Regions from separate parts of the Homo sapiens genome. Here region 1 is linked to region 2. The links are contacts of gene promoters, found by promoter capture Hi-C in human tissues and cell types (Jung and others, 2019). All regions are on one chromosome and are shown on one strand. Each heading gives the region's core, a stretch centred on a gene start or on the middle of the fragment in contact. The rest is flanking DNA. Distances are from core to core; before and after follow the strand shown. Region 1 overlaps PI15 (peptidase inhibitor 15). Region 2 holds the start of TMEM70 (transmembrane protein 70).

What was found. The method cuts DNA at HindIII sites, captures the fragments that hold promoters and counts their contacts. A contact is called where the count stands out against the background at its distance.
Region 1: a fragment that was not itself captured here is called in contact with the fragment with the promoter of TMEM70 in region 2 in 1 of the 25 tissues and cell types used here (dorsolateral prefrontal cortex).

What each region holds. Positions count from the first base shown.
Region 1 is chr8:74,849,450-74,852,565 of GRCh38, forward strand. It overlaps PI15 (peptidase inhibitor 15), which reads left to right. Exons shown (of 6, transcript NM_015886.5): 6 at 1-3,116. Among named protein-coding and RNA genes, the nearest start is that of PI15, 26 kb to the left of the region's middle. The HindIII fragment of the contact is 3,820 bases long and covers 1-3,116 here.
Region 2 is chr8:73,974,214-73,977,482 of GRCh38, forward strand. It overlaps TMEM70 (transmembrane protein 70), which reads left to right and starts at 1,982. Exons shown (of 3, transcript NM_017866.6): 1 at 1,982-2,278. The coding sequence starts at 2,069. RefSeq lists silencers at 1,771-1,850, 1,900-2,115, 2,281-2,330. The HindIII fragment of the contact is 11,340 bases long and covers 1-3,269 here.

The sequences.
Region 1 (3,116 bases), core at 98-2,597, 870 kb after region 2:
TTTTCTGACCTCTAAGCCTAAATTAAGATATTGTATATGTAATGATGACATAGTTGATGCATCCAATCCTAAAACTTACATTCCAAAGGAATTATATCATTATGTTCCTAAGGAGTAAATATATATTTGACCTGTAAGTGTGTGTATGTATACATATACATATGTATGTGTATGGATTTATATATGCACACAAACATATAATATGTGATGTAACATGTAGATGATAATATGATTCAGTAGTCAACTTGAGGGAAATTTTTAAAAAACTATTCTCAATTATATACGAGGTGATGGGACTTCTTAACACACATTTCTATAATACCCATGAAATGATAATTTGTAAAATAACACTTAGTGATATCTGGAAATAATAATTCAATTAAGCAACCACGAATTTCACCCTGGAGATATTTTTTCTTATTTGAGTCCACCAAAGGATAATGCCAACTTATATAAGTTCTCAAATCATGCCTTCCGCTTAGTCTCATTTTATTCATTCAGTCGTCATGAGTTGAGTGCTTACTACATGCAAGGCACTCTGCTAGTTATATTCTAATAATGCAGAGATAATTAGACATGGTTCCCGCCCTCAAGAAGCTCACAAAAGTATTCAGGAAATAATGCAGACTAGTGATTTTGCTATAAAATTATTTTTGAAGGAAGCAGACACAGCAGTATTTACCTGTAGGTGGAGCAAGTAATAAGCCATGCTGTGCAATATATACATAAAGCTTCTGCTTCTCATGGGAATTTAGTTACAGTGCTTGGAATGAGAAGGGGAAGGAAAGAATTAACAAATGCCAAGATTTCTGGAGCAGATTGTACAGCTGTGACTTTGGAAAACAGAAAGTAAGACCCTCAGAAAACCAATGAAGTCTAAGAGAAATAAAATTTAGTGGACAGGTATGAAAAGTGTAATTGCGCCTAACTACCAGATGGAGAGCTTCAGAATGGGCTATCCTTAGAGTCTAGTACATCTTGAGGCCTCTCAGCAGGAGACAAAGGATTCCAAAAAGAGATGTGGAGGTGCTGAGGGCACCTCTATCTCTTTGTTGTTTAGTCTGTCATTGAATCAATCTACTTATCATCTTGGGTCTTTGAGTATTGTATGAAAGATCCTTCGTGCACACCACACACAGTCATGATTTTGTTAAAGTAGCCTTCTTCAGATGCTTTTCTAAGGGCTAGTTACCAACTTTATTTCTGTGTTTCTGTAGAAGAAACATTTTCAGTTCTTCATTGAGTTTGATTATGGAAATCCATTCAAAGTCACTATGAAAATTTTACTCATGTAGTTTGGAAATGCAACATTTTCCTATCATGAAATCTCTTTCAGAGAGGAGAATACAACATCTTAGTCCAGACATTTAACATACTGCATTTCAAGTACATGTGTGTGTGTTTTATTCAGGTTGTGTAATGCTCCCGTAGAATTATAGAACAATTAAATATGGTTAGTTCCAGAGTGCAAATTACAGAAGGAAGCTACTTGTTTAAAATTCCATACACGTTTGCAGTTTCTTGTACACATTTGGATACTTTGAAAGATGACAGATTGTTAAATCCATTCAATGGTAAAGAAACTCACCATCTGGAGATTGAGTCTACTTGTTAATGAATGACTAGCCCAATTATCCTTATAAATTGAATATGGTGACCAAATGCTTTGATATCATACTACTCTGCCTTTGTGGGCACATATGTAGACACTACTAAAAATAAATATTTTTGGAGATTAAAATGGAGAATAGAAGTAATTACATTATTTAGGTCTTAATCCAACTTTTTTCTAATATATCTAAACAATTGAAAGGGAAGCTTATTCATGGAATATTGGCTTGATTTATCTAGAAAGTTTTTCCTTCTTCAATTTTACTATATTCATTCTACAGGAACAGCAATAAGTACTATTAAACAGAAGATGGCTACACTAAGTTCCAATTTTGTTGCTGAATTGCTTCTGTGAGTTCACTTTTCAGTTCTAAGGAAGAATAATATTTGCTACATATTTCACAGGGGTTCTTATGAAGGTAAATTTACCAGATTAATAAAAATTTATGAATATTAAAATTATCATTAATAATATAAAACACTTATTTGAGATTAAATTAAATTTTTCATGAGCCCCTCTTTGGCAGGAACTCTGTTTAATTCTTTGTATTTATCCCAGCTTCTTAAATGGTGGCTGTAACATAATAAATGTTTAATAAATGCTTATATGAATGGATTTTTAGAATTAACTAAGAAGCCAAAAATGGCAACAATTTACAGAAATCCCACCTTTCCATGCTTAAGACAAAAATGTCTTAAATATAAAGCTGTGATTATATCAAAAATCCAGATAAATCATCAAATATATCAGATTAAGACCAGGGTTTACACACTTAGGCAATAGTCCTTTCCAAACCATGACAAAAACTACAAGTTTATTTATAATTTAACAACTCAGCTGAAAATATAACGGGTATATTTGTTATTCTAACTCTATTTTTTAAAGTTAATAATATAAAGTGGCCATGTAAAATATTTTATTTTCCAGGCTAAAGCAAATGAAAGTTTGCTGGTATCAACACAGCCTGCCATATTTTTCACAGCATGCAACAATGGTGCTAGGATAGCTATTTCTTACTGTAATTGCCAGAGGCAGAAATGGTCTGGGTATAAGCTATTTCATAAAAGCAGCTTTAAATTGTCAGTATTAAGGTTTTCATGTGGAAAGGTGTCATTCAAAAAAAAAGTAATTGGCATACATATTCCACATCATCGATCCTCTCTGTGGTGTTAATTTTTTTATATGACCAGTAGAAAAATTTTAATATTCTCACAATATAGGTTTTGGGGCTTCCATATCATCAAAAGACTGAAAAATTATAATTTTAGAATTAAACTGATGGATTTCATTATAGAATTATCTGTGAGTTGTGTAGACACAGTCTTAATGTTTCTGGTTATGACAGATAAGTTTGCTCAAAAAATGTGGATGAAGCCATTATTGTTATTATTGTTATTGCTTCTGTTCAGTTGTCTAAGTATCATCCCTTCTGTGGCCCATCACGCAGCAGAGTTGCCCTACAAATTTCATTTGGCAGCGCCATAACATTCATTTAAAAAGTTTA
Region 2 (3,269 bases), core at 732-3,231:
ATCCACTAAAAATACAAAAATTAGCTGGGCATGGTGACGTGGCCTGTAGTCCCAGGTACTTGGGAGGCTGAAGTGAGAGGAACACTTGAGCCTGGGAGGTCAAGGCTGCAGTGAGCTATGATGGTGCCACTGCACTCCAGCCTGGGCGACAGAGCAAGACCCTGTCTCAAAAACAAAATAAAAGGTGGGCACAGTGGCTCACCCTTGTAATTCCAGCACTTTGGGAGGCTGAGGTGGGCGGATAGCTTGAGCCTCAGGAGTTTGAGACCAACCTGGGCTATATGGTGAAACTCCATCTCTACTATTAAAACAAATATTAAAATAAAAATAAACAAAATGTAAGTAGAAGCTAACTTTTTATAAAATAAAGTTATCCATATAGAGGTATTATCATTATCTCCTTCTGAATACTCCCCCCAATAGACAGTATTTGGAGTTGCCAACATGATCATATTCTATTGATTTATTTTTATTTTTATTTTTGAGACAGGGTCTAGCTGTGTCACTCAGTGCAGTGGTGCAATCAGGGCTCACTGCAGCCTCAACCTCTTGGGCTCAAGTGATCCTTCCACCTCAGCCTCCCAAGTAGCTGGGACTACAGGCAGGTGCCACCATGCCCAGCTAATTTAAAAATTTTTTGTAGAGACAGGGTCTCACTTTGTTGCCCAGGCTGGTCTCAAACTCCTGGAATCAAGTGATCCTCTCACCTGGGCCTCCACGTAGTATTGGAATTGCAGGCGTGAGCTCCCGCCCCTGGCCACACATTATTTTAGACTATGAATTTGTTCCTCTCCGGTGCAAATAACATGTCAAATCAAAAACATGTATAGTTCTGCAGTGGTAAACAAAAGTGTGTTTCTATTACTAAGATGCTCATCCTTCAAGACTGAGCTAAATGTGAAGCCAGTCTGAAGACATTCTGAGGCAAAATTAATCATGTTCTTCTTTGTACTTCTGTGGCATTTGTTTGTTCTTTTTTTTGAGACACGGTGTCACTTTGTGGTCCAGGCTGGAGTGCAGTAGTGTGGTCTTGGCTCACTGAAGCCTCGACTTTGGGCTCAAGCAATCCTACCATGTCAGCCTCCTGGGTAGCTGGGACCACAGGCACACACTTACCATGTGTGGCTTATTTTTGTTTTAGGTTTTTTTTTTTTTTTTTTTTTTGTAGAGACGGGGTCTCCCTGTATTGCTCAGGCTGGTCTCAAACTCCTGGCCTCAAGAGATCTTCCTGCCTAAACCTCCCAAAGCGCTGGGATTACAGGTGTAAGCCACCACGGCCAGCCACATTTTGTATATTGCGGTGTCTCAATTGTATTACATTATATTCTAGCCAATTTTCAGGTATTTTCCTCCACTGTTTAAGCACTGTGGATTCCCAGTTTAATCTAGTATTTTGTATCCTCTGCTCCTAGCTCAGTCCTGGCAATAGATTCAGTACCTCTTTAACAAGTAATGAATCAATGTGTATATGGATGTGAATGATTTCCGAAGACAAATCTGGTAACACCTATCAATATTACATGAACAATTCCATTTATTTTCCTCCAACCCGATGATTCAATTAAGTTATCACTCATTTTTGTTCAAATCGTATATTCTTTCTTCTGTGCCAACAGGCTAGAATCATTTTCCGCAAAGGAAACAGTTTTTAGTGATGTCGTCCACGAGAAAAAAAAATATTTAACCCTGGCTTCTGGGCATTGTCATTCTCGTACAGCCCTCTGCCCCTCCACACTGTTATAAAGAAGGTAAAATTCTAGGAAGGAGGAGCCGCTGAGCCAAGGACAGAGCGGCGGGCTCCCAGCTCAGCTGGCGGATAACGCGCGCGGCCGGGAAGGCGGCAGGCGGGCGGCAGGCGGGCGGCAGGCGGGCGGCAGGCGGGCGGCAGGCGGGCGGCAGGCGGGCGGCAGGCGGGCGGCAGATTCTGCGCACGCGCAGGCAGCCCAGCTGCCAGTCAGGCGTCCCGGGCTGGGCATGCGCCACTTGTGCGGCAGTCGGGTGGGAAGCCGTGTCTCGCAGTCGTGGACTCGTGCAGCTGGGGCGTCCGCAGCCGCTCGTCACCCGCGTGATGCTGTTTCTGGCGTTGGGCAGCCCGTGGGCGGTCGAACTGCCTCTCTGCGGAAGGAGGACTGCATTGTGTGCGGCCGCCGCGCTCCGAGGTCCCCGGGCCTCTGTCTCCCGGGCGTCCTCCAGCAGCGGGCCTTCGGGGCCGGTAGCCGGCTGGAGTACGGGGCCTTCGGGAGCCGCGCGCCTTCTCCGGCGTCCGGGTCGAGCGCAGGTAGGGCGTCCGAGGTCTGGTGTCCCAAGTGAGGCGGGGAGGGCGGGCGTCGTGTCGGGCCTGGGGAGCCCCAGCGGCTCTTCGCGACCTCTCCCAGGTGTCCGTGGCTGGAGCGCGGGAGGAGCCCCCTCTGCGGGGCTTGCAGAAGTAGCAGGCCGAGGGCCCCGGGGTCCTCAGCCTCCGCGAGTCCAGGAGAACGGCTGGAAAGTGCTTACTTTTATGGTAGTTCCAAATCCAGAGGGTTTGTGGTGACAACTATATGTAGTTCCTTTTCTGCCCTTGAGTAGAAGCTTAGAAGTGTTAATTTGCAAAAAATTGGATGCAGCACCTGGAAATAGAACCGAAAGAGCCAGGTTAACCTGACTTTGAGCTTGTTCTACTTTTATGAGGTGGCTGTACTTTTAAGAATTACTTTGGTCCCTGGGAAAAGGGGGATGCAGATGTTAATTCTTTTATTTTGATCTGAATAAATTGTCTTCTAATTCTACTCTGTAAAATATCAGGATTGGCAAACCTGGTTAAAACTTGGAAGAAATGCTTAAAATGGAAATTGGAATCTAATTACATTTCAGCATTGAGGAATTAGGCATGCCTTTTACATTTTGAAGTGTATACACTGTGAAACTCATTTTCAGATGTATGGGGAACGCTTCTGTTCCCTTGAAATTTGATGTAGGATTTCAAGTAAATTTTATTTCTTTTTTTTTGGAGGTGAAGTCTCGCTCTGTCACCCTGGTTGGAGTGCAGTGACGTGATCTTGGCTCACTGCAACCTCCGCCTTCCGGGTTCAAGCGATTCTCCTGCCTCAGCCTCCCCAGTAGTTGGGATTACAGGCGCGCTCCACCACACCCCGGCTGATTTTTTTTTTGTATTTTTAGTAGAGACGGGGTTTCACCGTGTTGGCCAGGCTCGTCTTAAACTCCTGACCTCAAATCATCCTCCTGCCTCGGCCTGTCAAAGGGTTGGGATTACAGGCGTGAGCCGCTGTGCC